2 separate regions of the Homo sapiens genome follow, and region 1 is linked to region 2. The links are contacts of gene promoters, found by promoter capture Hi-C in blood cells and fetal thymus (Javierre and others, 2016). All regions are on one chromosome and are shown on one strand. The core of a region is centred on a gene start or on the middle of the fragment in contact, and the rest is flanking DNA. Distances in the headings are between cores, read along the strand shown. Region 1 overlaps RAP1GAP2 (RAP1 GTPase activating protein 2). Region 2 holds the start of RAP1GAP2 (RAP1 GTPase activating protein 2).

Region 1 (5,361 bases), core at 1,204-3,703, 140 kb after region 2:
GGGGGACCACAGGACAGGCAAATTAGAAACTGCACGAAACAAAACAAAATGCAAAGAAAAACAAAATCGAAACAAAGAAATACAATATAAAACAAAACAAAAGAGCTGGGCGTGGTGGCTCACGCCTGTAATCCCAGCACTTTGGGAGGCCGAGGCGGGCAGATCACTTGAGGTCAGGAGTTTGAGACCAGCCTGGCCAACATGGTGAAACTTCATCCCTACTAAACATACAAAAAAACTAGCCAGGCGTGGCATGCCCTGTAATCTCAGCTGCTTGGGAGGCTGAGGCAGGAGAATCGCTTGAACCTGGGAGGCAGGGGCTGCAGTGAGCCGAGATCGTGCCCTTGCACTCTGGCCTGGGTGACAGAGCGAGACTCCATCTCAAAAAAAAAAAAAAAAAAAAAAAGAAGAAGAGAAACCACAACAGATGATAACTGTTTATGGCAGGAGGGTGTGTGCAGCTGGGTCATGGTCCCCACCTTTTGGGCTGATAAACCTGGCTGAGGGCTAGGCGTGTATGTTTGCCATGAGTGAGTGTTTCTTGTGTGTGTGTGTGTGTGTGTGTGTGTGTGTGTTGGGTGAACGTGACTGTGAATGTTGTGGTTAGTTCTTTGTTGTATCAAGTGTTTTGGATGTCTGTTTGGGGGTGGATATTGTGGGACGCCACGTTGGTGTGAATGTATCTGCAGCTGAGTGATTCCCCCAGCCAGGACAGCGGGGCCGGGAAGGACAGCCCATTGTCCCTACCCTAACCTCGTTAGGGCCTCGTTTGCCCCAGCACCCCCTTCTTCAGCCCCAGCTGGCAAAAGGGGGTGGGGCAATCGTGTTATTTAACATACAGCTTATAGGGAAGAGAGCTGTTGAGCATTAAAGCCCCCATGCGGTTGTTCATGTATAATTAGGCTGTGGGAGCTTGGGGACTGACTGACTGTTAGAATCACTCGGGACCGAAGCACTTATTTAAGTAATCATTAACTGGAAGATGGGAAAGGAACAGAACATGCAATTTGCAGATGTCCCCTCTTCTTGCAGGTCAGCCTGAAATGAAACTCCCAGCAAGTGAGGAGGCTGGCGCCTTGCTCAGCCTTCCTCTTCCCTCTGGTGAGGGGAAGGGCAGGTTAGGGGATGCTGGGGCTGAGTTGGGGTTATGGAGATGGCATCTCTCAGGCACATCAGAAGCACAAGCCCCCCAAAATTTCCAGCTTCTCATGACTCCTTCGCTGACACCGCCCTTTACCCAGCAGCACAAAGATATATAATGATATATTCAGTTCTCAGTCCGGCGCATTTGATCAACACCTGCTCTGCACTAGGCCAGGGACGGCTCCAGCAAAGTCCCAGTAATCCGTTGTCCCAGGTGGAGGAGGATGTTAACAGGAAGAGCCCAGATAATTGAAATTCTGGTTTAGCTCATCTGTAAATCTGCTTTTGCTGCTTCCCAGCAGTGCTGATGTGGTCATGGGGGATGGGACGCTGTGTTTTCCTCCTTCGCGCTGAAGCAGAGGGTGCCTGGCTGGGGGTCTCTAGGCAGGAGCGTGTGGGAGCGGCCAAGTTCTGGAGCAGTTAAGGCTGTTAGTGGTGACGGGGCACCTCATGGTCTCTCTGGGGGACAACTGCAGCCCCAGTGGAGGAGGAGGGAGACTGGCCAACTGCATATCCCATAACAAGTGTGGGACCCGGAGCTCAGGGAGAGGAGAGGGAGGAAGGGTGTTCGGTATGTGGTGTGTGTCTTGGCATATGATGCCTCTTGCTTTGGAAATTCTGTGAGGTTCCATCCTTTTTATTTATTATTTATTATATCGCGCCACTGCACTCCAGCCTGGGTGACAGAGTGAGACTCCATCTCAAAAAAAAAAAAAAAAAAAAGAGGAGCTCGAGACCAGCCTGACCAACATGGTGAAACCCCGTCTCTACTAAAAATACAAAAATTAGCCAGGAGTGGTGGCGGGCGCCTGTAATCCCAGCTACTCAGGAGGCTGAGGCACGAGAATCACTTGAACCCGGGGGAGGCAGAGGTTGCAGTGAGCCAAGATTGCACCACTGCACTCCAGCCTGGCAGCAGAGCAAGACTCCATCTCAAAAAAAGAAAAAAAAAAAAAAAAAAAGAGCAGGGACCACGGGCAGGGTATGGGTTCCATGTCTGGTCTGTGATGTGTTCCCTCTGGATGGGCAAACCCAGAAGCTTCTTCAGCCCCTTTCCTCCTCCAGGCACAGGTCGAGGCTGGGATTGCGGGAGGAGGGGAATGGCACTGGGATCTGGAGTGCCTGGTTCTCAACACTTGCTTGGCAGAGGGGAGGAGGCCCAGTGTCCCCGCGTACAGGGCAGCATGGCTGCGGTTTCCCTCCTCCATGAGCCAGCCAGCCAGACAGTGGGCAGGAGAGGGCGGGAAGAGAGAAGGGCGAGTGGAAGGAAATGGAGTCGTGTGGGCGGGTGAGCAAGTTGGAAAGCGCCTGGTGTAGAGAGGAACATTGTTGGGGAGCAGAGACCACTGTGGAGTGAGGGAGGGGGCCAGCTGTGCCTCTTGACACAGCCAGACACCTGCCCGCCAGGGCCAGTAAAGTGCCTGGTGTAGAGAAGAACCTTGCCTGGGGGGCAGAGACCACCGTGGAGTGAGGGAGGGGGCCAGCCGTGCCTCTGACACAGCCAGACACCTGCCTTCCAGGGCCAGTTAGGAGAGGGTACAAGCTGCGGAGCCCATGGGGCTTTGCATTTTCCAGGGACAAGGAAGCTTGGAGCGAAGCAGAGATTTTCCGGGAGGCCAACACCTCCCTTTTCTCCCACTCTGTCAGCCTGGGGGGCTCTTTATTCCCATTCTTTAGAGAGAGACACGGTGGAGAAGATGGGACCACAGCTGTGGCTGCTGGGTAGACCGAGGCCAAACCAGCCCCCTGCTCACTTTCCTGCCTCTAAGCCTTTGCCTGGGCTGTTCCCTCTCCTAGAATGCCTAACCCTCTAGTTGACCCTGTTACGGACCTGGCAAGGTTAGTCTTGAATAACCTGATGAGATTTCCAGAGCTGCTTTTTTCCAGTTCCCCCACTAAGAGGCTTAGACCTGAAGCTGAGCCCCACTTTGGGGGAAGACTGGAAGTTTCAGGTTGAAGACCGGATCAGGACCAGGAGCTCGGCCAGCTGACGCTGCAAAGCCTGCCTTGGAGAGTCTGTGGCGTAGGAACCTTACGCCTTAACCAGCGTGGGCAGCTCGGAAGCAGGAGCCCCAGTTGTTTCTTGGAAAAATGGGGCCGATTGCCCCAAGGCAGCCACGCCCTTACAGAGCCTCTTGCAAATACCCACAGGGTCACCCGTCTTTGGTCACAGCCACGGATGGCGTCCGTCATCCATGCCTCATCTTTATCCTGTTTGTACTTTAGGTTGGTTCAGTACTTGACTGTTTACAAAGCACTTTTTTTTTTGAGACAGAGTCTTGTTCCGTTGCCCAGGCTGGAGTGCAATGGCACGATCTCGGCTCACTGCAACCTCTGCCTCCTGGGTTCAAGTGATTGTCCTGACTCAGCCTCCTGAGTAGCTGGGACTATAGGCATGGGCCACCATGCTAGGCTAATTTTTGTATTTTTGGTAGAGAGGGGGTTTCACCATGTTGACCAGGCTGGTCTTGAACTCCTGACCTCAGGTGATCTGCCTACCTTGGCCTCCCAAAGTGCTGGGATTACAGGCGTGAGCCACCGCACCCGGCCTTGCAAAGCACTTTCTTGAACTCTTCTGGTTCTTGCAGAAAAGAAGAATGATTTCCCCATTGCGCAGAGAAGAAAATGAAATACTCCTTTTAGCCAGCTGGTAAGACACAAACCTGAGTCTTGAGATTTCAAATCCACTGTTCTTTCTGTTACCCCAAGAAATAATTACTGAGTACAAATAATTACTGAGTGTCTACTACTGTATTTCATTGCTTCGAAGACACTTTCTTCCCTCTCATTTAACAACTCTGAAATCAGGGTGCATCTCATGAGCAATAGCACACCGTAATTTGTAATTGGAAGCATTTTTGCTTTCTTAGCGGAGAACAAAATAATGTGTACCTTCCAGTGGATGTCCTTTTAGTTTGACGAAATCTGGTGCGTGCACAACTGTGGTGTGTGTAAATATGGCCTCTGCCTGCAAGGTGTGCAGTTTAGAGGAAAGATCAGTCTTAGCTATTCGTGTGAAACAGAATATGACGCCTACCAAAACCAACTCGAGTGCCGTGGGAATTCCAGCTGAGGGGCTTCAGAAAAGCTTTAGGGAAGACGGGTGGGATTTGGCCTCTCAGCATCCTGTACCATCTGCATCAACCAGCTGATTTAGACAATACACCCAAGCCCTGTTAGAGTGAAGGCTCAAAACTTGGCCCCTGGAGGCTGACTATGGGTTTGCATTGCCTGTCGTTCTAGATGTTTAACTCTCAGCCTCAGTTTTCTCAGTGACAGAGTGGATGTGATGATAGTGCTTGCCTCACAGGTAGGCGTGAGGATCAGATAAAAGAACATATTCAGGCCAGGCGCAGTGGCTCACACCTGTAATCCCAGCACTCTGGGAGGCCGCAGCAGGTGGATCACCTGAGATCAGGAGCTCAAGACCAGACTGACCAACATGGTGAAACCCCATCTCTACTAAATACAAAAAATAAGCTGGGTGTGGTGGCGGGTGCCTGTAATCGCAGCTACTTGGGAGGCTGAGGCAGGATAATTGCTTGAACCTGGTAGGCGGAGGTTGCAGTGAGCTGAGATTGTGCCATTGCACTCCAGCCTGGGCAATAAGAGTGAAACTCTGTCACACACACACACACACAAAAGAGAACGTCCCACATCTTTAGTCAAGGGTCTGACAGATAGAGTGAGAGATCAATAAATGTCACCCCCCCGCCCCCATCCTGAAATTAATTCTATAAATCCAGTACACGTAGAGCCGGCAGACATTTGTCGTTCGATCACTGTTGCAATGTCAAGCACGTTCACATTTGTGGCCTCATTTGATCTTCGGAAGTGCCGGAGGATGGGGATCATTACTCCAGTGTCACAAAGGAGGCAAGTGAGGCGCGAGGCCTCACAGCTGGCCGGTGACCGGGCTGGGATTCGGAGGCTGGTCTGTCTGACGCTCAGTCCCATGCTCTCTTCACCGGATTGCAGCTGCTGGAGAAAAACCACAAGCAAGGAAGGAAACGCGGCCGATCTGGCGGGTTTGCTCCAGCCGGGGTATTTTATAAATGAATGATCACTGCTGGGCATCCTTAATAGTGGGGTTTCTGGTTTCGAGAGAAGAGAGGTCTCATTTAGAGGCTCAGGAGGCTAATTTGACGGTGGGGAGATGTGCGCAGACCGCCATCTCCTCTCCCTGTCTCCACCTCCAGTGGCCGGTGGCCAGTTTTG
Region 2 (5,058 bases), core at 994-3,493:
CAGCCCCAGGCTTTCATCTCATGCTTCAGCAGGGGAAGCCTCTTGGGATGGTGTCTTGTTGGGTTTACTTAGGTCTCCTGAACCAGTCCCCTTGGCTGGCCAGGCCTGGTCAGGTGCCCACTCCTGACCCTGGAGGTGGATTGAGTGCAGAGGGTTCTTCTCAGATGGAGGCAGGGCAGGCAGGACCCAAGTTGTCCACGGTACCTGTTGAGCACTTCCTGGGTGTGGGTGGGTGCCTCTGGGGAGAGAGGCGCTTGTGGCACTCTGCAGTGGCCATCCTGTGGGAAGCCAGCAGCCTGAAGCCACCCCAGAGCATGAACCACACAATCCTAACTTTCCTGGGGCAGAGGTGAGGGTTGGGGGAAGCCTCCGGGCTCCTGCTGGGGACTAGCTGCCTTGGAGGTAGAGAGTCAGCCCCCAGCCCTGCTCTGGCCCAGGACCCTGAAGCTGCTCCCCCAGCCCACTCAGGGCTTGAGGCCCCTGTGCTGTCCCCTGCTGTGAAGGAGTCAAGAAAATAGAAATCCTTGTACCCTTCGTCCACAAGCTGGGGTTGGCCCCTGGCACCTCAGCACGGAGTCTAGGACCTTCACAGTGGCAGCAGGTGCCAGAGAGGAAATTTCAGGGAGGGTTGGCCAGAGAGAGAGGCCAATGGCACCAGCTAGGGCCGTTTTTTTCCTTTTTTTTTTTTTTTTTTTTTTTGAGATGGAGTTTTGCTCTTTGTTGCACAGGCTGGAGTACAACAGCATGATCTTGGCTCACTGCAACCTCTGCCTCCCAGGTTCAAACGATTCTCCTGCCTCAGCCTCCAGAGTAGCTGGGATTATAGGTACCTGCCATCATGCCTGGCTCATTTTTGTATTTTTAGTAGAGATGGGGTTTCACCATGTTGGCCAGGCTGGTCTCGAACTCCTGACCTCAGGTGATCCACCCGCGTTGGCCTCCCAAAGTGCTGGGATTACAGGTGTGAGCCGCCACACCCGGCCTTTCTTCTTCTTCTTTTTTTTTTTTTGAGACGTTTTCTTCCCTTTCTCCACTGCTTGGGGGTAGGGTGGGGCCTGGGGCCCTATCTGTGCCCACTCCCCCCAGTGTCTGTTGTAGTGTACGTGCCACATCCCTTTGAGGGGCTGCCATTAGTAAGTGCCTGCTGTGTACCAGGTGTGGTCAGCACCAGTGCGTGCAGAGATGAGCACTGGCCCTGTGGTGTGCAGACTGGGATGCGTGCAGGACACGCTAGCCCTGTGGCATGAGGACCAGCACCTGAGCATGCAGAGATGAGGACGAACCCTGCGGTTCAGCTGGGAAGACAAATCCACCCGCACATGGGTACCGCCCCCCCACCCCACACAGCCAGCGTGAAGCATGCCACTGCTCTGACCTCTGTCTAGACACTTGGCGGCGGGGGTGGGGGGCGGCTGACAGGTACAGCTCTGTGCCCATGTGTGTGTACATGCGAATGCCCCTTGCAGTGTGATGTGGTCTGAGTATGTGGATGAGTGCCTGCGGGCACATGTGTATGCGTTCATGTCTGTGCACGTGTCCAATGGGGCTTTGTCAGTATGTGAGAAGCGTGTGCAGGTGTGTCTACTGATGCCTGTGTGAAGTGGTGTGTGGATGTGCACGGGAGCGTGTGTGCCGCGCTGTGCTCAGGTGTGTACAGGTGTCTAATGATACGTATGTCTGCGTGCATGTATCTGTGTGTACCTGGGTATCCTGGGCGTGTGTGTGTCCATGTGTGCATCCCACGTGCCCCTGTGCCCATGCGTGTGCATGTATACTTACATCCACGTGTGCTAGTGGAATGACATGTGTGTGGCTGGTTCCTCTGGCGTGTGCCGAGCCATGGTGGGGCAGGCAGGCAAAGGTCCCTGTCTCAGGCAGCCCTCGGGAGTGGGTGTGAAGGTCCCCAGTGCTCAGGCGTCCCTGAGGCTTCCAGCTGAATCTTTCTGTCCCTCCTAGGCGTGGCTGTGGGAATCCTTGGGGCGCCTTTGGGTTCCAGGAAGCTGGGGCTGTGTGGGCCGGGCTGCTAACTGGGGCTGTGGAGCAATCTGCCAGCCGAGCCCCTTCCGGAGCTGTGGGTTCCTCTGGGTGTGGGGAAGCTGCCCTCCACAACCTCCTCGGCCTATCTTGGTGCCTCCTGGAGTGCAGGACACACCTCCCAGCTCTGCAGCCTCACCCACAGGAAGCTCGGGTTGGGGGCAGGCGAAGAGGGAGGTGCCACGCTGGGCTCCCCGCCCTGCACCGGCACTGACCCCGCTGTACCACGGCCCTCTTGCGGACAGCCCCGGGGACGTCGTTGGGACATCGCTGGGACCCCGGGCTCTGCAGCCACAACCATGTTTGGCCGGAAGCGCAGTGTCTCCTTTGGGGGCTTCGGATGGTGGGTGACAGGTGGGAGGGTGGGGGAATGATGGGAGAGAACTTAGAAGTGAAGTCTTGTTAAGTGCATTGGCGGCCGTGGGAACAGAGGGGCTCGGGCTGTGCCTGAGAGCTGGGTCTGCTGACGCCCTGGCAGGTCGAGATGCAGGATCCTGGTGGGGACATCAGAGACCGTAAGCCTTCCCCACTGTCCCTGGGCACAATCTGCTGGCGAATCCTGGAGGTCTGCGCCGGCTGCCCGTGGGGAGGTGGATAGCATGAGTGTGACTGCAGTTGAATGTGTGTGTCTCTGTGTCCGCAGGTTCCCATGTATGTGTGTGCGTGTCTGGGATTATGTGTAAGTGTGTGTGTGCGCGTTTGAGCCTGTGTGTGCAGGCGTGTGTGTGTGGCTGTGACTGCCAGTCCGTGTGACCGTGTGTGAGGTGTGTGCCTGTGCATGTGGGCAGCTGCCTGTCTGCACTTCTGGCCTTCTGTGTCTGTGTGTGCTTGTGTCTGCGTGTTTGTGTGTGTGATGCTCCTGTCTGTGCTGTTGTTGTGGCCTTGTGGCAGGGGAGTCTGTACCTGCTGGACCTCTGGGCTGCCTGCTGTCTTGGGGGTGGGTTGTGAGAGAAGGTCTCCCACCTGCACCCCAGGCAGCCCACCCTAGCTCTGTCCTAGCCTGAGCAGCTGCATCTGTCCCCAGCCTCCTGCCTGGCCCTCTGGACACTCTTGCCTCTAAGCTTCTGTCTGGGATGAGGGATGTGCTTTTTCTTCCCGGCGGGGGGCAGAAGGTAGGCACACGAAGGCCAAAGGCTTGTCTCTGGTTCCCAGTGCTGGCAGCTTCTTCGCAGCTGGGGAACAGAGTCTGGTGGTTTTCATGATCGGTTTCCTTTCAGTGCCTGGGCTGGGGGCGTTGTCAGACTGGGAGAGGGCCCCGCGGGAGGTGGCCGGGGGGTGTCCCGGTGTGGAAAATGGTGGACTAATGGGGGTGGCACGAAGGGCGAGGGGGAGAGGGGCTGTGTTCCTCGGTAATTTTTCGCTTCCGTGTGTGTGGCTTATTTCCCTCTTCCTCCTCTTCAAAAGCACTTTGCCATCCATCCTCTGGCAGGGGGGGACTGTGGGCACTCCATGTTTGGCAGATGGGATGGTGCGGATGAGAAGATGGCACAGCGTCGCCTGTGTCTGCTCTCGGGCCCTCCCTGACGCCTGGATCTGGGAGCTGCCACCCCGAGGGTAGGTGCCAGTGTCCGGGAGGCAGCAGAGGACTTGGCTTCTGGTTGGGAGGGGTGTGTGTGTCTTGGCTGTGGGCCTTGCAGGGCAGGGCCCAGCAATTAGATTGTGCCCTCCAAGGCCCGCCTTTCTCTGGGAGGTGTGGAGCAGATGGAAGGCTGGTCGCCAGAAAGCTCCGGGTGCACAGGTCCCGGTCTCAGCCTAGCTTCATTCCATATGAAGCCCTCTGTGTTGAGACCCACAGCTCCAGAGCACAAGGCAAAGCCAGGCCTGAGATTTGAATCTGGGCAGGTGAGGGGGAAGACAGGAGTGTGGCTGCCCAGGGCTGCCAAGATAGAAAGCAGAATTCCAAGTTCTTCTCTAGCAGCCCTTCTCACTGGGGCTTCCTTAATGAAATGCACATTCAGATTCAGGAGGTCTAGGGTGAGCCGAAGGTGGAGGAAGAGCCCTAGGATGTCCCAGACGCCCTTGTGTGCTGGCTCAGTGTCCACTAGGCTGTGGGTTCCAGGAGGGCAGGCCCTGCCCCGTCGCGTTCACCTGGAAGCCTGGCATGTCACACAGGCTCAGTCGATGCTTGTGGACTCATCGAGGTCTTTTGCACACAGCAGGTGTCTGCTTGGGGCCCCTTGAGGTTGACGGGATGGCGGGGCCTTCTGGGCTTGGAAGGTTAAGGCAGCAAGAAAGGGGGCGAGACTGGGGTTTGGGCCTCCTCATCTGGGATGGCTGTCAGCTGGGAGGGGGTGTCACGGATTCCTGGAGCCCTGGTCCCTCCAGACAGTGAACAGAATCTCTGGGGCTGGTGTTTTCCAAGCTCCATTGGATGCAGGGTGGATAACCTCTGGCACCAGGGGCAGACAAGGTGATGAGGGTGGGTGGGATGGGATGGGAGAGGGAGGAGTGCCCAGGAGCCTTGGCTTCCTGAAAGGGAAAGGCCCAGCCTCACAGTCCTCTCCATCTCCCATCTCAGCCTCTCCAAAACCAGAGCCCTGCCCTCCTGAGGCCACACCCTGATGTGGGAACTCTGGTGGGCTGGCTGCTGTGTAGGCGTGGTTTGAACCAGGGCTGCTGTGACCACGGTGCCTGTAGGTGGTGCGGTGGGCGGGGCTGACCCGACAGCGGTCAGAGGTGCACGCACCAGGAGCCCCGGTTCCAGCGGTTCCAGCGCCGACTCCACCTTGACCATTGAGGAACTCTAATGGGACACTTCCTCTCTCTGGGTCTCAGTTTCCCCTTGTGTCAGTGGGGGATTTCTGCCTTACCCACAACACAGGGCTGTTGTAAGAATTAGGAGATTCCTTGAGAAAATGTAAAACCTAAGCGCCTGCTGTGAGGGGCTGCCATCCGGCAGCTCTGGGTTGCACGCGTTACAGCAGAGTGTGGGGCTCTGAGTCCTGCTCGGATCTGGGTGTCTGTGCGTTGAATGGGGGAAGAGGAGGGTCTGCACCCCAGAGCGGGTGGGGATTCCAGGGTGAG

What was found. Contacts are between HindIII fragments. The CHiCAGO score rates a contact against its expected background, and 5 or more counts as called.
Region 1: a fragment that was not itself captured here is called in contact with the fragment with the promoter of RAP1GAP2 in region 2 in 1 of 17 cell types (megakaryocytes); the score reaches 5.3 in megakaryocytes.

What each region holds. Positions count from the first base shown.
Region 1 is chr17:2,930,739-2,936,099 of GRCh38, forward strand. All of the region lies in intron 3 of RAP1GAP2 (RAP1 GTPase activating protein 2), which reads left to right. Among named protein-coding and RNA genes, the nearest start is that of RAP1GAP2-AS1, 32 kb to the right of the region's middle. RefSeq lists enhancers at 28-774, 775-1,519, 1,520-2,265. The HindIII fragment of the contact is 547 bases long and covers 2,181-2,727 here.
Region 2 is chr17:2,794,195-2,799,252 of GRCh38, forward strand. It overlaps RAP1GAP2 (RAP1 GTPase activating protein 2), which reads left to right and starts at 2,244. Exons shown (of 25, transcript NM_015085.5): 1 at 2,244-2,377. The coding sequence starts at 2,334. The HindIII fragment of the contact is 10,845 bases long and covers 1-3,093 here.